Linked DNA regions of Homo sapiens: region 2 is linked to region 1. Evidence: promoter capture Hi-C in 16 types of primary human blood cells and fetal thymus (Javierre and others, 2016). All regions are on one chromosome and are shown on one strand. The core of a region is centred on a gene start or on the middle of the fragment in contact, and the rest is flanking DNA. Distances in the headings are between cores, read along the strand shown.

Region 1 (5,706 bases), core at 2,488-4,987:
GAGTTCAGGCTCTGGAATCAAAGAAACCCAATGCCACATCCTCCTTCTATTGGCTTTCTAGCCGTGTCTGTCAGCAAGTTACCTGATGTCCTCAAGCCTCCACCTCTCAATTGGTTAAAAAATACATACATGAAAATAGTACCTGTCTGATAAAGTTGTTTTGACAAGCAAATTAGATCATACACATAAAACCTGTAGCATCATGCCTGGCACATAGAACACACCCAATAAGAAAATCCAGTGGATTTGGTAAATGATTGATTAATGGGCTATAGCATGACAAGGTGGGAAGAGTCAAGGATGATGGTCAAGTCTTTGCCTAGAATCCACAGGACTATTACCACCTGAGGAAAATAATTGCATGCGGAGGAGCCTGGTGATAGAGGTGAAGACATGAGCTGTTCATTGATGATCAGATCCAGTTTGAACTGCCAGGTAGTAGTAATGTCTTGGGGGCAGTTGTAAATTCAAGACTGAATTTCAGGTTAAGAAGACGGATAGAAGACATGGAGTTGAAAGTGATTAGTGTCTAATTTGTTGTTAAAGCCACTAAAACAGATAAAACCAAGACCTATGTATAGAGCAAATAGAACAATGGGCACAGGACCAAAAGCTGGGTACTACCAATATTTAATGAGCCATAGGAGAAAATGATTTGAAAGGTAGAGAGAAAAAGGAGGGGAAAAACAAGAAGGGGAAGAGTAGGAGGGTGTGATGCCACTGAGGCTCTAAGTAGAGAAGGTGGTCGCCATCACAGGTACAGCAGGAGGCTGCCATTAGGAGGAATACTAAAGAATCCCAACTAGGTTTGACAATGAGGCTGTTGGGCAACCAGTCTGAGAAACATTTGCACAGCAAGGGAAGGTGAGAAACCAGGTTACATGGATTTAGGAGTAAATGGCAAGTGAGGAAGAGGAGATAGCAGAAATGGACTAATGTTTCAAAAAGTTAATAAATAAGAGAAAGTAAGATAATTCTTTCACAAAGGCTGCTTCCTGGGTTGACAAATACTCTTTTTTATTGAGAAAGCCTTTATAAAGTGCTTCCATAAAGACAAGGAATATGGGAGAAGGAATTGGCAGAAAGAAATTGGGATGGAGAAAGTGAAGACTATCAGAAACTGCCTCTCAGAAGTTCAGGTCCAGCCTGAATGTAGGTTAGTGTGTGGGTGGTTTTAAAAACCTTGGAGGAAATACATAAAGCACCTCCTCTGTCCTTCAACACCATACCTATCACATCCACAGGAATAATCACTGAGAAAAGGCAACTCTAAAGCAAAATGTATATGGGTGTGAGGGCGGGAATGTACATATGTGTGTATGTGTATATCATATGTTTAAAAATGTAAATACAAGATAAGAAAATATATGCAAAAGCCATTTCAAAACTCTTGACAATGATGATGTCCTTATTCAAATTCTGAATGACTAGATTTCTGATTGCAAATATTGAAGTGTTCCATTTTCATGCTAAGGAAAATTGGGATAAAGCATAAGAGAGTATTTTGGGAAACTTCAAATTTGAAATTGCTCACAAAGGCAAAATAATTACAAGTATTAAGGTCTATTAGTTAGACATAGCACTGGTTAAAAAGTTAGATTTTTTTCTTCATCAAATAACTACTATACACACTAATAAACAGTGATGGTTTTTAGAATCCTGCTGCTGAGAAGGTTGAATATACATATCATGCTGTGTGTAAGGGTTTTCATGTCATTGTAATTTAGACTACTGCACAACTGAATACTAAATACTTTCAAATGATCTATATTAAAATATGGCTCTATTGTATATAATTATGAACAGATATATTTATTTCAAGTTAATTTAATGAGATGCAAACTATATTATATAGACTAGTTAAGACATACTTTATGCTTAACATAATTTATTAAGCATGCTTCATACTTAACATTCCAATGTTTCTTTACTTGCTAATTGGTCATTGATTTTCTTCTTGAACATTTTTGTGCCTGATTATCTTTTATTTCTATTTAATCCGGTAGTAAAGTCATAATTTTGTAATAATATTAACAAAATCCTGCCTTTAGCAATAGATATGTAAATATATAAACATCGGATGATTATTTCACCAAGAAAAATTTTAGTAAGAGAATCTATTCTCAGAAATGCTGCAATTATATCAATTTAACAATGTGATTTAATTTTATCTTGTTTTCCTTTACAGTATTTGTGTGCTTTAAGATCGAGCTAAATTGTTAACTTGGCTATAGCTAAACTGTTAAATTTCTAGTGACTTTTTTAAGGTAAAAAAATACTAATAAATGTACTCAGTCTAGAGGTTACTTTAAACTTTTGAGTAAGTCAGTCTATGAATGAATTATTCATTTTATATGCTACAAAAATGTTTACTTAGTATTGAGGTATTTGGAATCGAGTAGGGCTCATTCTTTTGCTGTGATGAGTCTGCTTGATTCCTAGTAGAATGGAAGTGTGATTTAAGCCACCACCCTGTTGAAGAAGATGAATTGAGTATAGAGACCGTGAGCAGAACACAGTTCTGCCACGATCTTTATTTACTTGAGCATCCACTTTGAGGGAAATATGGGTTTAATCATTCACAGGAGCAATCCACCACAGGCAAACACTTGAGTCACTAAACATTTTCACGTGTGCGAATAATGCCTGATTTCAGGGTCTCTGTTTAGTCTGTTTCAGGATATTGAGGATTCTCGGGATTTTTTTGCCATAAGCCTTAGGCACTCGTGATGACAACTCCCGCTATTATAATTTAAGAGTGGACAGATGAATTGATTCTGGGTCCTTGTGGCACACTTGTTAAAACTTCCTGGCAGGACAGGGTCCCCCTGTGTACACAGTTGAAAACTTGCAGTCCAAGTGACTCACAGGCTCTTCAGTTACCATGGTGATATTCCATTACAGGAGCTGATAGATTCCAGAGAGATTGGTGCAAGCCGTCTCAGCAGAGTGGAGTCGCTGGCTCCCGAAGTGAAACAGAACACAACTGCCAGTGGGTGTGAGCTCATGCACACGGAGATGCAGGCCCTGCGTGCCGACTGGAAGCAGTGGGAAGACAGTGTATTCCAAACGCAGAGCTGTTTGGAGAACCTGGTCAGCCAGATGGCCCTTTCGGAGCAGGAATTCTCAGGCCAAGTGGCTCAACTGGAGCAGGCCCTGGAACAGTTCAGTGCCCTTCTGAAAACCTGGGCTCAGCAGTTAACCCTCCTGGAAGGCAAGAACACGGATGAGGAGATAGTGGAATGCTGGCACAAAGGACAAGTAAGTTGGCTTCCTGTTTTCTATTGGTGGTTATGCTTTAAAAAATGTTTTGACTTTCATCATTCCTTAAAAAAAAAATCTTGCTAACTAAAAACACGCAACATGCACACTTGGAAGAAGTATTTATCTCATTAAATAAGCAAAGTCTGATTTGTTTCCTTTTCTTATATATCAAACTTTTGTAAAAATAAAGATTTGGGTTATTATTTGCGGTAGGAAACATTTGTTGTTAGTGGAGACATTTTACTTTCATTCCTATGGTGTAAGAGTCTGTAATACTGTATTCAGCCATTCAGTCTGAAAAATGGCCTGTGGGCAGGGGCATAAATAGACAGAGAGTCATAGCTGTTTTCTTGCCAGTTAACTATTTCATACAACTAAATGATTGAATTTATAGCCTTAAAAGACTCACTTGGTAATCTCCTACAGCACAGCAAATAGTTATCTCCCCGATTAGCTCTCCTCTGTGTGGTTTTGACAGCTGTTCTTGAATTAGCCTGTTAACAGAACTCTACGTCACCCTCCCTGGTCACCTTCCCGAGACTTTTTTTTTTTTTTTGAAGCTAATGGCAGCTTCTTTAGAATGTGAGAAAGGGAAGCCTACAAGGGAGACCGAAGAATGAGCAAGAGTGTAACCTCTTCTTCGTTTCTTTCACTGTTAAACAGTATCTTTGAAAGCCTTTTCAATATTTCCAGTTTTATAATGCCCTGATTCATGGATGTCCTTAAAAGGAAATTTAGTAAACTTCTCTGCTCCTATTTATATTACAATCATTTCAAAATAGCTCCTGCCAGTAAGAAAGTCATGTAGTATTTCCAGCAGTGTCTGGTTTTAAATCAAGTATTTGAAACAAATGCAGCATGCCATAAAATAAAGCTTTCTACCTCTTTATGCTACTCTATTTATAATGATTCTAGGTTTGGGGGTTTGTTTTTGTTATTCTGTTCCATTTCCTGTCCTTTAGATTTATGTACCAGAATAAAGCATAGAAATCAGTTCTGTCACAGAGGGACAAAGAAGTTGATAATTGCTCTACATGGTATAATATGAAAAAATCAGTTACACTTTCTTGGTTCCTTTTTCTTTCCCTTTCTTTCTATTCCAGTCACAGAGTGAAATTTTTAAAAAGGAAAGATTTGGCTGTGCCTAGATTACATTACTATTCTGTTCATTATTTTTACGTTGATATTATTAGTAAAAATAATGGTTGAGGCCTATAAAAATATACATGAGAATGCAGTAGTAAATATGGGTTTTCAGTTGTGTTAAATAGTTCAAATGTGACAGCCCTCTGTGTATGTCTGCTTCCAGATTTGACTCCAGGGTCAATGCTTTTGATGACAATGCTACATTGCTTCTCAATATTCATGTTTTCTTTTATTTCTAATAATGGCATTTTATCTAAAAGTGGAGATATTTCTATCACAATGAATATGTAAGAAAATGTTAACAAAATAGTAAATATGCTAGGGTTCTTAGGGCATTGTTTTGCTTTTAGGGAGGACTTGTCATTGTTGATGATCACAATAAGAATTAAAGTATTTATTTTATGCAATTAGATGACAATACTCAAGAAATTCTTTAAAACATAAAAACAGATGATCTATAAAGTATATAATATAATATTGTAAAAATAATTCTATTTACTATGTTTGCGAAACTCATTTATCTTAATATCCTTTGGGATATTAGCTTTGGAAATAATTTTCTTAAGCTGTATAAGGTGGAAAGATGCATTCTAGAACTTAACAGAATCAGAAATACATAAGCTGATATTTATATATTGACTCTACTGACATACTTTAGGATGAAGTTATAGAAATGTTTTAAATGTAACGTTTTGGTCAAAAACTTTTCACTTTTAATGTCATCCCATTCATAAGTAACTGACTTGAATCTCCAGTATTTTTATGTTTTTGTTGAATGCTAAGTTTCTTTAGTTCTTACAATGTTCTGTCTTAAGTAAAAGGTTCCATATGGTGTAAAATAGTTGGTCCTAGTTTAGTGTTTGGAATTTCAGAGAGAAATTGTTTAGTTGTTGATGAATTTTTGTAAATAAAAATGTCTTAGACTCCTCCAGCCCAGACACCGAGTTAAATAAAGAATTGACAAACCAAGAGAATGTCATTCCTGCTCTCATAATCACAGCCTAGGTGGGGAGATACGCAAGCATAAAGCCAATGTGGATACTCCTTGTGATGAATGTCTGCAAGGTCCTGTGTATCCTCAGATGAGAAACCCGAAGAGGTGGGAAGGAGGGCAGGGGGTACTTAAAGGAGTTGTTATTTGAGTTGAGTCTTGAGGTATAATTAAAATGTGACCTGACAGGTGAGGTAGAGGAACAGCATCAAGATGCAGGATCATTGAGGAATCAGAAAACACAAGAGAGGAACCTAGAGAGGAGGAATCAGATTAGGAGGATGTAGTGCCACCCCCAAAAGAAA
Region 2 (6,089 bases), core at 60-2,559, 59 kb before region 1:
CTACTCGGGAGGCTGAGGCAGGAGAATCGCTTGAACCCGGGAGGCAGAGGTTGCAGTGAGCCGAGATGGCACCACTGCACTCCAGCCTGGCAAGAGAGTGAGACTCCATCTCAAAAAAAAAAAAAAAAAAATCTGGAGGCAATAATATTTTTTAACTGAACCTTAAAGGTCAGTAAAACTTAGTAGAGTTTGGAGCAAAATACAGACATTCTTTGGAAGGTGGAATGGCATAGAGCATACAAGTGTTCTGAATAGGAATTCTGTGTTGTAAAATAGAACAATGGGAAATGAATTTGTAAAGGAAATTTGGCCCATATTTCAGAGTCTTGAAGACCTAAAGCATTACTTTCTAGGCAACATGGAGCCAGACTTGTTGAAGGCTTAAAAGGAAAAGCCACACGATCAGAGCTGGGCTTTGGATGAATTTTTAGGCAGGTGTAGAAAAGTGACTGAAAGTGTGAAAGACTGGGGTCATGGGATCCATTTAAGTTATTGCATATGGGCATATGGGAGTTAATATGGGCATAAATAAGGGCGGTGGGGTGGCAGGTGTTACACAGAAACAGATACAAAAGATGTGGAGTTCACAGGAAGATAGGGAAACTAACCAGACAGAGTGAGTGACGAAAATGTTGATACCTGAGGTTTTGAGTCTGACGGAGACAATGGAAGTGAGATGGGGGATGTGAACGAGAAGTTGTTCATGGGAAAAGATGACCAACTTCATTTTGGAGGTAGCGATTTTGAGACTCCAATGGGGCATCAAACAGACCGTATTTAGTAGGTGTACTTGGTGAACCCAACCCTACAAGCTCAAACACCTTGGACACTCTAAGCAGACCAACCAATTTGTACCAAGCATTGAAGTTCCTGTGGTGCCTCTTTGGGGTTTATAGAAAGACTGAATTAGTAGAGAAATGAACTAACCGGTGTCTTAGAAAGAAGAGCCTTGTGCCCACCCTTCCCTAGCCTTTAGCAAGAAAACCTTTGTGTTTCTGTTTTCTTACCTGCAAAAGGCTTCACTCTCTCCCATACTGCTAATTTTTTGTTTCTCCTAAAAACTCACTGAGGATTTTGAAGTTTTCTAAGACCACAGACTCTTTCAAGTCTATACGATATTCATCAGTCATTTAAATAGAACATTATTTTAATTTTTAATTTAAATTATTTGGCCGGGTACGATGGCTCATGCCTGTAATCCTAAAACTTTGGGAGGCTGAGATGGGAGGATTGCTTGAGGCCACGAGTTGAGACCAGCCTGGTCAATATAGCAATACCCCATCTCTATTTTAAAAAATAAATAAATTATTTCGTGTATTAAAAACGTATCAGGTGCCTTTTATAAATACAAAGATGTTTATTGGGTTAATTTCCTAAATGTTTCTGACCACGTTCCAGCCAGAGTTTCTGACCCCCTATGATTCCATTTGCACTAATTCCTTTGGATCAGTTTAAGTACCTGTAGATTGAAACAAATGGAATCTTTTGAGTCTTGTTATTCAAATTCTCCTTTGTCCATGGTCTTCTATGCTTTGGGATTGATGTAATAATATGAGGTGACATTTATCAAACACATATAATATGCCGAATTAATTATTTGATGTTTATCATCGCCTTTAATCCTCAAAACAGTCCTAAGAAATAGGTATCATTATCAATCGTGTTATATGAGGAAGGACACATAAGGCACAAAGTTGGTGATGAACTCACTCAAGATCTGCGGATCACTAAATAGTGAGGTTGGGATTTCAATCCAAAAGGTCCTTTTCCAGAGCCCACATCTTTAGTCACTACGTTATTTTTTCATTCAAAAAACAGAGCCATTTTACTAATTGCCTATGCTCACTGCCAATCTAGAATCATTGTTCTCCTGTAGTTCTTTGCTCATTTTGCTTTGTTATTACAAACCTTTATTCAAGTTGATAGCCCTTGAGTAGTTGTGCTAAGGAATGGTTATGCTAAGGGACTTGAGTGTCCTCTGTGTACTGGTGTGTGTGATAGAGGGTTCATAGCAATGTCATGTTTAATCTTGAAAATAAGATATGGCTTTAGTGATGAAGAAAGGAAAATTCAGAGAGATGTGGCCAAAGGTCACTCAGCTAATGAAGGTTGGAGCCTAGGTTTCATCCCAGATCAATCTAATGTGAGTCAATTTTTACCTGATGCATCCTGCTGCCTGCCACTCATATGTTTTCTAAGAAGTTAGAGATAAGGCCTTACAATGTTATTCTGTTTTTGTTTAATTTTGTTTTTTTATCACCATCATTCTGCTCTTTCGATTTCTCTGCATTATGCTTTTTCCATACATAGCTCACATAAAAAGCTCTAAAATTGAATGTATATAAGCATTTTCAAACATTACTTTTTCCATGTTTTTCCTGGGTTCTGAGAAACACTAGCAGAAAAAAATAAAACACTTTATTTTTCACTTCTGATTATATTCATGGGATTCTAAGAGATCATGTGGTGATTTGTAATCTCCACAATTGAATCTACCATGACTGTCAGATATAGTAACAGTGGGTGCTTTTATCCAAAGAATTTAATGTTGTGACATTAGCAACTACCATATTTTAGTGTACTATAAATCTCTATGCCATAAGGAAGCTGTACTTATTCATTTTTATTCTCTTAAATTGCAACGTAGTTCTCTGAAGTAACATTGATTTTTTCTTCTTCTTTTTTGAGACAGAGTCTCACTCTGTCACCTAGGCTGGAGTGCAGTGGCACAATCTTGGCCAACACTGATATTTGTTGGCCGAACTCGTGATATTTCTATGAGAACATTAAGTCTTTTAAACATGAAGATATAATAGTATTATTTAGTAACTCTATCTTATATGGTACTATGTTCTAGGAGATGCTCTTACTGAAAAGCTGACTTTGGAAAAATACTTATATTTCTACATTATTCATTTAGGAGAAGGGAGTTGATCAAAATTTAAACCTCCTGTGAGATTCTCTTACATGAGAAGAAGTGAGATACCAAGTACATTTTCTTCACTTAGGTTATTACTGGGTTTACCTTTTCTAATTCAGCATTCAATATAATTACTTGACAAAATTCAGGTAACATCTAATATTTACCAGCCACATACATACTAAATCAACTTTTCAATTAAAATAGTTGAAAATAAGTATTTTCAACTATTTTAAAATATTTAAAATAAGTATATTGGCTTAATAAATCATTTTGTCCTCAAGTTTGTATGAGAGACATAAAAAACAATAATCAGTATCTCCAAGAGTGTTAGGCACTTTAAAAGTAAGATTGCTAATAGAATGCTAACAGTAACCTTCTAAGAAAAGGATTATCATCTGCATTTTACATGAAAGAGCCTGAAAATAATTCACCAAAGTCAAACAACTAGTGATCCTGGATTCTAGCCCAGGCTTGACTGGTTCAAAACTTATATTCTCTTTCCATCATGTGATACATGTGTATGTAATAAATAAGATTTAACAGCACTAAGATTAGATTATAGCTCTTTTCAGAGAACTAGTTAACAAAATGGCTTGATTACTTCTCTCTCTCTTTTTTCTTTGAGACAAATTCTTGCTCTGTTGCCTGGGCTGGAATGTAGTGGCGCCATTATGCCTGCTCACTGCAGCCTCTATCTCCTCTCACCTCAGCCTCCTGAGTAGCCAGGACTACAGGCATGCACCATCATGCCTGGTCACTTTTTTTTTTTTCCCTAGAGATGGAGGTCTTCCCATTTTGCCAAGGCTAGTCTCAAACTCCTGGCCTCAAGTGATCCTCCTGCCTCAGCCTCCCAAAATGCTGGAGTTAAAGGCATGAGCCGTCATGCCTGGCCAAAGATCATTGATAGTCTCTTTTGACTAAGATATTACATTAAATAAATAAATGTTTCTATTCATTGGCCTAGAAATCTATTATGTCTATGATCAATCACTATTGATTTTGTGAACTGGCCTGTAATAAGTAAGCATATTTGTGAATAAATTAATTATTATAATGGATCTAAGAATTCTAAACAATGAGACAAAACCAGGAAACAAAGGAGAAACAATTTTTGTGAGTATTATTGGAAAACTATGAAGGCAAATAGCTGGTTGTGTATAGAAAATTAAAAAGTTAGCCAGGCATGGTGGCACCTGCCTGTGATCCCAGCATTTTGGGAGGTCAAGACTGGAGGATCACTTGAGCCCAGGAGTTCAAGATCAGCTTGGGCAACATAGTGAGACCTCATCTGTACAAAAATCAGAAAATTAGCCAGATGTGGTAGTGCCTGCCTGTGGTCCCAGCTACTCAGGAGGTTGAGGTAGGAAAATCATATAAACCCAGGAGTTGGAAGCTGCAGTGAGCCATGATTGCACCACTGCATTCCAGCATGGGCAAAAGAGCAAGACCCTATCTCAAAAAAAAAGAAATAAAATAAAAAACTGTTAGCAAAGTGTCTATTTTGGCCATATGGAAATAAGTCAGATTTATTGTTAAGAACAATGTAAGATCCATACATGTATGACTCTATGTCTTCATCCACCCATCTGTTCTGTATGCAATATGTGCACTTTATTTGAGGGCAGAGATAAATAATATAAAGTGCCTACCTAATGATCATAATATTTTTTCTAGGAGTTTTCTAAACGGACAGAAAGTATTGCAGTCCAGGCTGAGAACCTTGTAAAGGAAGCTTCAGAGATACCGCTTGGGCCCCAAAATAAGCAGCTGCTTCAACAGCAGGCCAAGTCAATCAAAGAACAAGTCAAAAAATTAGAAGACACGCTTGAAGAAGAGTATGTGATTGACAAGTCCTAAACTTTCTTCTCTGAGATAAAGTTTCATACAATCTTTCCTGTACCTTGTATTCAAAACACTCTTTTAAAATCTCAAAGTGTCTGTGTATTTCAGCATGTTTTGAGGAAACAACTCACAGTTCAAAAGAAAGTATCGCTAATACAGAAACCAATATCTATAACAGAGCCCAAAAAATATAAAGGATGTGGGTTTTGCATCTTAAACTGATCATGTTCATGAGAAAGCCATATCTATTCTATTCTGTGGCCTTTGTACATTGTAGAGGGAATCTTGAAAAAGAACTAATATTTAAAATAATTTTTTTACTATATTATTCTGCTGTCACCATTTAGAGCGAAAAGGAGATATTTTGTTAGTGTAGATTCCAGGCCTAAATACACATCACATAGACCATATATCTCCAACCTGAAGAAGCTCCTGGAGCTTGTTTACAGTGCCTCGGTATTCAAGTTATCCTGACTAATATGCTCTTTCCAGAAATTAACTTTAAAATATTTTATTTTTAAACTTTTAATGTTTGTTTATCTGAAAAAAAAAAACTGCTTGGCCTATTGATATCCTGTTATATACCCAAAATATACAAAAAAGTTTGGAGGGGAAAAACATATGAGGATACAGCCAATATTATTCAAAACAATATGGCTAAACATTTCTATTTTTAACATAATTTAGTGGCAAATCAATGATACATAATAGCATATTATTATTAAGGGACAGGCCATCATTTCTAAGGTGGGTTTTAAAATGTAAAATGTGTTTTTAATACTATTAACAGCTTAAAATTAACATTTTACATTTGCCTAAACTTTAAAATTTGATACATATTTTATTTAAAACAAATTATGACTTGAAATTTTGAGGACTTTATATTACATTAAATATTCTCTATCAAGTTATGGAAATAGTAAAACAGAGTTTATTAGAAAGGAATTTACTTCTATTAAGAATAGCCATTTTAACCTTTATTTAATTTAAAAAGTTGCAATATAACACAGCTTGCATTACCTGTACTGCTGACAGCATTAGGCACATTCAGGGTATAAATTTGAGACTGCAATATTATTTAATTTGACAGTCAATGATGCCACTCTATTTTTCTTGATGTCTTCAAGTGCCTTTTGGTAAACAGGGACATTCTTTCACTTTTTTTTTTTTTAACCCAAGGACTTACTAGTTCAATTATATACTGTTAGTTTCTTAGTCTTTTTCTAAACTGAAAGCCATAGTCACCTGGTTATACATGCATAGCTAATACAAATTAGAAATCTATAGTTGAAATTCTGTTCACTAGATTTGTTACAAATAAAAC

Evidence for each region. The method cuts DNA at HindIII sites, captures the fragments that hold promoters and counts their contacts. A CHiCAGO score of 5 or more calls a contact.
Region 2: a fragment that was not itself captured here is called in contact with the fragment with the promoter of SYNE1-AS1 in region 1 in 1 of 17 cell types (neutrophils); the score reaches 5.2 in neutrophils.

The regions. Positions count from the first base shown.
Region 1 is chr6:152,378,561-152,384,266 of GRCh38, reverse strand. SYNE1-AS1 (SYNE1 antisense RNA 1) reads right to left here and starts at 3,737. Exons shown (of 2, transcript NR_120501.1): 1 at 3,674-3,737; 2 at 2,554-3,207. SYNE1 (spectrin repeat containing nuclear envelope protein 1) reads left to right here. Exons shown (of 146, transcript NM_182961.4): 56 at 2,905-3,261. The HindIII fragment of the contact is 6,155 bases long and covers 1-4,140 here.
Region 2 is chr6:152,434,610-152,440,698 of GRCh38, reverse strand. It overlaps SYNE1 (spectrin repeat containing nuclear envelope protein 1), which reads left to right. Exons shown (of 146, transcript NM_182961.4): 33 at 4,598-4,758. Among named protein-coding and RNA genes, the nearest start is that of SYNE1-AS2, 35 kb to the right of the region's middle. The HindIII fragment of the contact is 6,697 bases long and covers 1-4,657 here.